2 separate regions of the Homo sapiens genome follow, and region 2 is linked to region 1. The links are contacts of gene promoters, found by promoter capture Hi-C in human tissues and cell types (Jung and others, 2019). All regions are on one chromosome and are shown on one strand. Each heading gives the region's core, a stretch centred on a gene start or on the middle of the fragment in contact. The rest is flanking DNA. Distances are from core to core; before and after follow the strand shown.

Region 1 (4,433 bases), core at 399-2,898:
AAAAAAAAAAAACAAAAAAAAACAAGAGTCTTTCTCTGTCGCCCAGGCTGGAGTGCAGTGGCGCAATCTCGGCTCACTGCAACCTCCGCCTCTCGGGTTCAAGCGATTCTCCTGCCTCAGCCTCCTGAGTAGCTGGGACTACAGGCGCGCGCCACCACGCCCGGCTAATTTCTTGTGTTTTTAATAGAGACGGGGTTTCACCGTGTTAGCCGCCAGGCTGGTCTCGAACTCCTGACCTCGTGATTCGCCCACCTCAGCCTCCCAAAGTGCTGGGATTACAGGCATGAGCCACTGCACCCGGGCTTTTTTTTTTTTTTTTTTTCTTTTGAGATGGAGTCTCGCTCTGTCCCCCAGGCTGGAGTGCAGTGGCATGATCTCGGCTCACTGCAAGCTCCGCCTCCTGGGTTCATGCCATTCTCCTGCCTCAGCCTCCCGAGTAGCTGGGACTACAGGCGCCCACCACCAAGCCCGGCTAATTTTTTGTATTTTTAGTAGAGACGGGGTTTCACTGTCTCTACTAAATGCTAGCCAGGCTGGTCTCAAACTCCTGGCCTCAAGTGATCCTCCTGTCTCGGCCTCCCAAAGTGCTGGGATTACAGGCGCAAGCCACCGTGCCCGCCCTGATTCTTCCTGTGTCATTTTCCTGGGCTTCCCTCTCCCTAGCTGGACTGCAAACACTCTGGAATGCTGACCTGAGGGCTGGAGTGCTGACCTGAGTGCAGCAGTGTCCATGGAGCCCCACGGGGCACACACCAAATGTACAGGGTGGGTGCCCACAGCCGGGCACAGGCAGGTTCACAGCCAGGAAGCCCGCCTCACCACCCTACACATGTTCATCCCTTCATATGCCTGGGTCTTTCCTGGAACACAAAACTGTTTTGGGAAAAGTCCTTCGGCTCCCACATTTGTGGACTAAGAGAGGAAACTGTGAGCGGAACCCAGCCAATGCCTCTGCTGCGATCCTACTGGCTCCTGGGCGCCTGGGCCCACCCCCGTCTCTTGTTGGCTGGTCAAAAATATGGCCAGTTTATATAAAATCCTGTTTTGTTCACAGTAACCACACCCCCCACCCCCCAACTAAACTGGCCAGGCGCACTTAAAATTCTAAGGCCTCCATTTGAAAAAGGGATCCTGTCAGTTTCTCAATAGGCCACCCGCCCACAGAAACGGGGAGGTGGCGACAGGGAACGGCCCCTGCTCCAAAGGACACCCCTTGGCTCGCCCCGAGGCTGGGCTCGAAGGGACCCCGGGGTGGCGGGGGACGGAGCAGCGTAGCCCTCCAGAGTCGAGCTGAAGGGGAAAGGGTAGCGGGTGGGTCGCCTGGTGTCCTGGAAGAACGGGGCGCGAGTCCCCCGCGCTGAGTCAGGGACCCCGGGCGCAGAAGGCCACGCAGCGGGGACCGGGGTCGGGGGGCTGGGGGCGTCCGGGGACCCCCGCGCGGGTGCGGGTCGCGGGCGCCAGGTGGTGCGGGAAGCCCCCGACGTGCCAGGCCGGGCACAACAAAAGCGCGGGCTGGGGGGAGGCGCGGGCGGAGGGGGAGGAGGGGGCTGCTGGGAGCGCCCAGAGCCTGCATTGGCCGCCAGCCACCGGGAGGAGGAGCAGAAAATCCTCCGAGCGCAATAAAACTGCGGCCCGGCCCAAGCCCGCAGCAAACACATCCGTAGAAGGCAGCGCGGCCGCCGAGAACCGCAGCGCCGCTCGCCCGCCGCCCCCCACCCCGCCGCCCCGCCCGGCGAATTGCGCCCCGCGCCCCTCCCCTCGCGCCCCCGAGACAAAGAGGAGAGAAAGTTTGCGCGGCCGAGCGGGGCAGGTGAGGAGGGTGAGCCGCGCGGGAGGGGCCCGCCTCGGCCCCGGCTCAGCCCCCGCCCGCGCCCCCAGCCCGCCGCCGCGAGCAGCGCCCGGACCCCCCAGCGGCGGCCCCCGCCCGCCCAGCCCCCCGGCCCGCCATGGGCGCCGCGGCCCGCACCCTGCGGCTGGCGCTCGGCCTCCTGCTGCTGGCGACGCTGCTTCGCCCGGCCGACGCCTGCAGCTGCTCCCCGGTGCACCCGCAACAGGCGTTTTGCAATGCAGATGTAGGTAAGGAGCGGCGACCCCAGCCCCCGCGCGGGGCCCCACCTCCCCCGCGACCCCGAGGGTTCGCAGACGCCCCGCCCGCCCGCCGCTGGCCGAGGGACCCCAGCGCCCGCCTCCTGGTCCCTCGGCGCCTTCTCGAATCCTGCAAGTGGACGCCCAGAGCCGACTTTCTTTCCCCCCTCCCTCCTCTCCCTTTCTTTCCCTCTCTTTGCCGAGATGCGTCTCAACCTCAAAATTCCACCGAAATTCCGCCGCAGCTCCAGCCCCAGGAAAGGGAGCCAGTTTGGCTTTTGGCAGGCGGCGCGCCCTGGGATGCCAGCGCTGGGGGCGGGGAGCGTGGGGGACACGGCGTGGGGGCGGGGGGCTGGAGGACTGGGGACCCCAGGAAGAAACTTTCGCAGATAAGGTGGGAGTTGGGCTTCTCTGGGCTTGGGGCTGGGTGGGGAAGGGCTTCTCTGCTGGGGCTTCTCCCACCAGCCCCATTTGGGGGCTCCCCGATCAAGCCAGGGTGGGATGGAAGCCCGCCCTACCCGAGGCAGGTTCCACAGGCCCAGAGGGGCAGGTGAAAAAGCCGGTGGCGTCTCCTGGCGTGGCTCCTTGCTTGCGCCCTGCCCAGGAGGCCCTGCAAACTGGCTGGGCAGGGACCGGGACCCCCGAATGTTCCGCTTTTTCGGGACGTCCACAAAAGCTGGAGACTTTGGTGACCGGACCCGGCACGTGGGACTGTGCTGCTGCTCAGATTCCCCAGCAAATACCCATGACCTCCGGACTCCTAGCCCCCAAAAGACAGGCGCCATGGAGGGAGGCAGGAGGGGCCCAGTTATTTGTTCTGATCCATGGAGGGGGAGGACCAGCAGAAATGGGAGGAACCCGCTGGCTCGAAGTTTCCACCCTGGTCCTGCACCTCAAGCCTCTGCAGCCCTGGTGCTGGTCAGCATGGTTTTCCTGGGGCAAGTCTGGCTACACGGCAGGTGGTCTCGGAGCCCCCTGCCCTCCTTCCTTCTTATGTCTGAGTCTCAGTCGAGTGACCTGTCCAGGGCAGATGGAGCAAGGCGGGGGCCCCCTCACCTGCCCAGAGTGGAGGTGGGACTTTCTGTTTCTCCTGCTGTCAGCCACGCCCTTCCCATACCCCGCCCACGGCTTCTTGCCCCACCCCGGTTAGCCCTAGGAGCTGCGTGCCCAGCTGGGGAAGTTTTCAGTTGCACCAATCTATTGAGATCACAGGTCTCAGGTGGCTCAGGCCACCTGGGCGGAAGGCTTGGTGTGTGCCTGTGTCAGTTTCCACAAAACCCAGTTTGGGGGAAATGAGGTCTTTTCTCCAGTTTAGCCTTGGTGCTCAGCAAGATTTGTGGGTGAAGGAGAGGTTCCTTTGATGAGGGAGCCATAATGGGCCTTTCTCTGGGGGTCCACGAGGAGTGCAGGCCTGTCCAGGCTCCTTGGCTCACCAGCACGTGCTGGGGCAGGATGTAGCCAAGGCCCAGAAGGAGGCTGTGGATAAAAGGACCTGGGAGTTGGATTTGTAGGAGTTGGGCCTTGGGACCCCTCCCCCTCCCGCCCCCCCCCCCACCCCGCCCCACACACACACTCCTCAGCTGTGTGGGAGAATGTCCAGGCAGCCACTCTGTCCTTGCTTGGCATAAGTTAAGGCGGCCACTGAGCTGGGAGCTGTTTCTGCGTGGGGTGTGGATCCAGGATGGCAGAGGGTGGAGGGCTGCAGTGCGTGCCTCCCGCCTCCTTCATGCTCAGCGCAGCACTCTCCTCTTCTGGGTTGCCTGGCATTTGTGTCTAAATCTTTGCATCAAAATCATCCTGTAGCTAAAACTTTTCACCCCATCCCGGCTCAGAGGCCCAGTCAGATGCCAGAGTTGCACTGCAGAGCTCAGGGCATTCGCTTCCTGTGGCCGCTGTGACAAACTACCACAAATGGGAGGGCTTAAAAGAACAGGAATCGATTCTCTGTAGCTCAGGAGGCCAGAAGTCTGAAAAGGTGTCCACAGAGCCAGTTCCTTCTGGGGGCTGTGAGGGAGAATCTCTTCCAGGCCTCTCTCCTTGATGTTGCTTGGTTCCATTTTCAAGGAACACATCACTTCCATTTCCGCCTGTCTTCACATGGCCTTCTCTCGTGTGTCTCTGTGTCCAAATTTCCCTGTTCTTTTTTTTTGGAGAGCAGGCTGGAGTGCAATGGCGCAATCTCGGCTCGCTGCAGCCTCCGCCTCCTGGGTTCGAGCAATTCTCCTGCCTCAGCCTCCCAAGTAGCTGGGGTTACAGGCACCTGCCACCACACCCGGCTAATTTTTTGTATTTTTAGTAGAGACAGGAATTCGCCATGTTGGCCAGGCTGGTCTCGAACTCCTGGCCTC
Region 2 (4,358 bases), core at 278-2,777, 91 kb after region 1:
TCCTCTTTTCTTCCCTTGTCCCTTTCTTCCTCAGGCAGTGAGCACACGTATGAGAGCTGTGGTGACGGAGTCCCAGCCCCGCAGAAAGTGCTTTTCCCCACGGAGCGACTGTCTCTGAGGTGGGAGCGGGTCTTCCGCGTGGGCGCAGGACTCCACAACCTTGGCAACACCTGCTTTCTCAATGCCACCATCCAGTGCTTGACCTACACACCACCTCTAGCCAACTACCTGCTCTCCAAGGAGCATGCTCGCAGCTGTGAGTGTGGGTTTGCAGCAGTGGGGTGGCTGTGGGTCCTCTGGATTAGATAAGCCCATGCACTTGTGGCACTGCTGCTCTCAGTCTGGGTCAAATTTAGGAGGGTAGTTCATAATGTATAGTAACTGATGAAACCTAAATTTGAATCATGCCTGCTGCAGAATGGGCCATGAAGGTGAATCGGTCAGGTGGGGCTGTGTTCGCCAAGCTTTTCTGTAAATAATTACCCAGACAGAAACGTTTTCAAAAGATACTTCCAAAATATATATATATATATATATACAAATATTATTTTTTTAGAGACAGTATCTTGCTCTGACACCCAGGCTGGAATGCAGTGGCTCCATCACAACTCGTTGTAGTCTTGAACTCCTGGGCTCACATGATCCTCCCATCTCAGCCTCCCAAAGTGCTGGGATTATAAGTGTGAGCCACCATGCCTAGCCCAATTGTTTTATGCATCTGTTGTTGTATCAGCATATCTTATGTGTATTATAAAACGTGCAGCCTGGACAACACAGCAAGATCCCATCTCTACAAAAACAAATCAAGGCCGGGCACGGTGGCTCACACCTGTGGGAGGCAGAGGTGGGCAGATCACTTGAGGTCAGGAGTTGGAGACCAGCCTGGCCAACATGGCGAAACCCGGTTTCTACTAAAAATATAAAAATTAGGCGTGATGGGGTGCACCTGTAATCCCAGCTGCTCGGGAGGCTGAAGCAGGAGAATTGCTTGAACCCAGAAGGTGGAGGTTGCAGTGAGCTGACCAAGATCATGCCGCTGCACTCCAGCCTGGGTGACAGAGCAAGACTCCATCTCACACACACAAAAAACAAATCGAAACAATTAGCTGGATGTGGTGGTGTGCTCTATTTGATTAAAATAGAGGTGAAATAAGATATAACTTACCAAAACTGAAAGAAATAGAAAGTGAAGAGTCTTTTAACTATTAAAGAAATTAAAGCATTGGTTAAAAATCTTCCCATAAAAAACCCCAAGCAGAGACAATGTTATTTCTGTGTAACTTTTTTTTTTTTTTGAGACGGACTCTGTTGCCTAGGCTGGAGTACGGTGGTGTGATCTCAGTTCACTGCAACCTCCGCCTCCTGGGTGCAAGCAATTCTCCTGTCTCAGCCTCCCAAATAGCTGGGACTATAGACGCACGCCACCACGCCTGGCTAATTTTTGTATTTTTAGTAGAGATGGGGTTTTACCATGTTGGTCAGGCTGGTCTTGAACTCGTGACCTCAGGTGATCCAACCGCCTTGGCCTCCTAAAGTGCTGGGATTACAGGTGTGAACCACTGTGCCCAGCCAATTTCTATGTAACTTTTAAGAAACAATTCCAATCCTTTACACGTTCTTCCAAAGAATAGAGGAGGAGAGAATCTTTCCCAGCTCATTCTATAAAGTTCCTATAACTCGGATAACAATAATAAGGAAAATGCGAGAAAGAAAATGGATAACCACAACTTCTTCACGAACATAGATATAAAAATTGTAGGAAAATACTACCAAATGACACAGTTTCTAAAAAACTGTAAGCAACTTATGTTTATCCTAGGAATGCAGGATGTTTTCATCGCAGAAAATCTCTAAGTAGAATTCTGGAGGGAGCAGAGCAGTTGAAAACACAGCTCAGGAGCCTGGCCTGTAGGGTTTGCTTCCCAGTTTGCCCCTTAGTAACTGTGAGTTTTTGAGAATGTCCCTGGTCTATGGAAGAATGAGACTGTCTTCCTTACAGAGTTGCGTGAGGCTCCGATAAATTCTGAGTGAGTCAAGTGCCTGGAGTAGCAGCCCGCAAAGAGGGAGTGCTATAGAAGTGACTGCTACTGGCTGGGCACGGTGGCTCACACCTGTAATCCCAGCTACTTGGGAGGCTGAGGCAGGAGAATCACTTGAACCTGGGAGGCAGAGGTTGCATTGAGCTGAGATCACACCACTGCACTTTAGCCTGGGCAACAGAACAAGATTCCGTCTCAAAAAAACATAAAAAAAAGAACACAAGATGGCCATGCAGTGGGAAGTGTTTGTAAACATCTTGCTAATTGCGATGGCTTCATAGCAGCAAAGGTTAATTATCAAGGCATAGTTGTTGAGATGAAGCAGCACATTGTTTGGGGGCGTTTTTTGGAGATGGAGTCTCGTTCTGTCGCCCAGGCTGGAGTGCAGTGGTGCAATCTCGGCTCACTGCAACCCCCGCCTCCTGTGTTCAAGAGAGTCTCCTGCCTCAGCCTCCCAAGTAGCTGGGACTGCAGGTGCCCGCCACCACGCCTGGCTAATTTTGTATTTTTAGTAGAGACGAAGTTTCACCATGTTGACCAGGCTGGTCTTGAACTCTCGACCTCAGGTGATCTGCCTGCCTCTGCCTCCGAAAGTGCTGAGATTACAGGCATGAGCCACCGTGCCCTGCAGAAGCACATTGTTGAGATGGCTAATTGTAGCCCCTATTTCCAGTGGTGACCTTGGTAATTTTGAGGTGGTTCTGGGTGGACTTTCAGTAAGATTTGACTAGATGGCTGTTGTTTTCGTCTCATGGTTTTGGCAGTAAGACTCTGCTATCCCAGGCCTGTCAGGGCTCTTCCACTGTAGAGCTGCCTTCCATTCTTGGTTTCTCTGCAGGATCTTTTTGAGCCAGTTGCCAACTTTGTGAGGATTAATTTAGTTAAAACTAGATAATATCTGTAAATCCCCGTAACCTGGCACAGGTAAGCTGCAGTTTGTTGCAGCATGTCAGCAGCAAGCGTGTGAGTAAGGCAGCCATGGCCATCCCTTCAAGGGGAACGCCTGGTCTTCCTTCCAATACCGGTCCCATGGGCCAGTATCACTGTGAAATATTAGTGCATCTTACTATCTTGGAACATATGAAGAGACGTTGTGGCCTTTTTTTCCTGCACCCCACTGGATCCTGAGTGACCCCTAAGTGGGCTTTGGCTGTGGTCTCCCCCTCCTAGCACATGGCATTTGAAGAGTTGAGGATCCTAAGGGGTGTTTGTTCTGACGAGGGTCCACTGTGCACGTGGCACGGAGCAGCAGCTCCTGCCGTAGGCTGGACTGTCTCTGGCGCTAATATTTAGCTAGAAGAGAAACACTGTGTAAATAGTCTAGGAGGAACGCAGTTCAGTCCTGTCCTTTTGTTTCCCAAATCTCTCTATGTCCGTGTAGTCATGGATTGACTTTTGAGTTATATTTTCCTAAATTACATGAATAAATATTTGTCCATGTGCCACTTAAATTAATCTCATATATTGCTGGAGAACCTGGCTTAGATTGTTATTTACCCTGTTAAGAGTGATATTTTATTAGGCTGAAAGAAGCTTTTTTTTTTTTTTTTTTTTGAGACAAGCTCTCACTCTGTCACGCAGGCTGGAGTCCAGTGGTGTAATCATAGCTGACTGCAACCTCCACCTCCCAAGCAATCCTCCCACCTTAGCCTCCCAAGTAGCTGGCACTATAGACTCATAGCACCATGCCCAGCTAATTTTTTTTTTGTATTCTTTGGGTAGAGATTTGGTTAGGCAGTGTTGCCCAGGCTGGTCTCAAACACCTGGGCTCAGCGATCCTCCTGCGTCAGCCTCCCAAAATGTTCGGATTATAGGTGTGAGCCACCATGCCCAACCAGCAGCGTTTTATATATAATGATTAGAGGCTTAATTTCTACACAGTTTTTTGAGACAGAGTCTCTGTTGCTTATGCTGGAGTGCAGTTGCCACAGTCTCGGCTCACTGCAACCCCCACCTCCCAGGTTCAAGCGATTCTCTTCCCTCATCCTCCCAAGTAGCTGGGATTACAGGTGACTGCCACCACACACGGCTAATGTTTGTATTTTTAGTAGAGATGGGGGTCTCACCAAGTGGCCAGGCTGGTCTTGAACTCTTGACCTCACGTGTTCCACCCGCCTCACCCTCCCAAAGTGCTGAAATTACAGGTGTGGGCCCCCATGGCCATTTTCTTTTGTAGTAAAACTGTATCTTACCTGAAGTTAGGTTTTGGAAAAAAAAGAGCTCTTCAATATTTATGTTGTCCCTTTTTTTTTTTTTTTTTTTTTTTTTTTTGAGATGGAGTTTCACTCTGTCGCCCAGGCCGGAGTGCAGTGGTGTGAT

Evidence for each region. The method cuts DNA at HindIII sites, captures the fragments that hold promoters and counts their contacts. A contact is called where the count stands out against the background at its distance.
Region 2: a fragment that was not itself captured here is called in contact with the fragment with the promoter of TIMP2 in region 1 in 4 of the 25 tissues and cell types used here (dorsolateral prefrontal cortex, hippocampus, mesenchymal stem cells and 1 more).

The regions. Positions count from the first base shown.
Region 1 is chr17:78,922,602-78,927,034 of GRCh38, reverse strand. TIMP2 (TIMP metallopeptidase inhibitor 2) reads left to right here and starts at 1,648. Exons shown (of 5, transcript NM_003255.5): 1 at 1,648-2,076. The coding sequence starts at 1,947. RefSeq lists an enhancer at 3,419-3,488. The HindIII fragment of the contact is 25,377 bases long and covers 1-4,433 here.
Region 2 is chr17:78,831,178-78,835,535 of GRCh38, reverse strand. USP36 (ubiquitin specific peptidase 36) reads left to right here. Exons shown (of 21, transcript NM_001385174.1): 4 at 35-256. Among named protein-coding and RNA genes, the nearest start is that of USP36, 7.5 kb to the left of the region's middle. The HindIII fragment of the contact is 6,692 bases long and covers 1-4,358 here.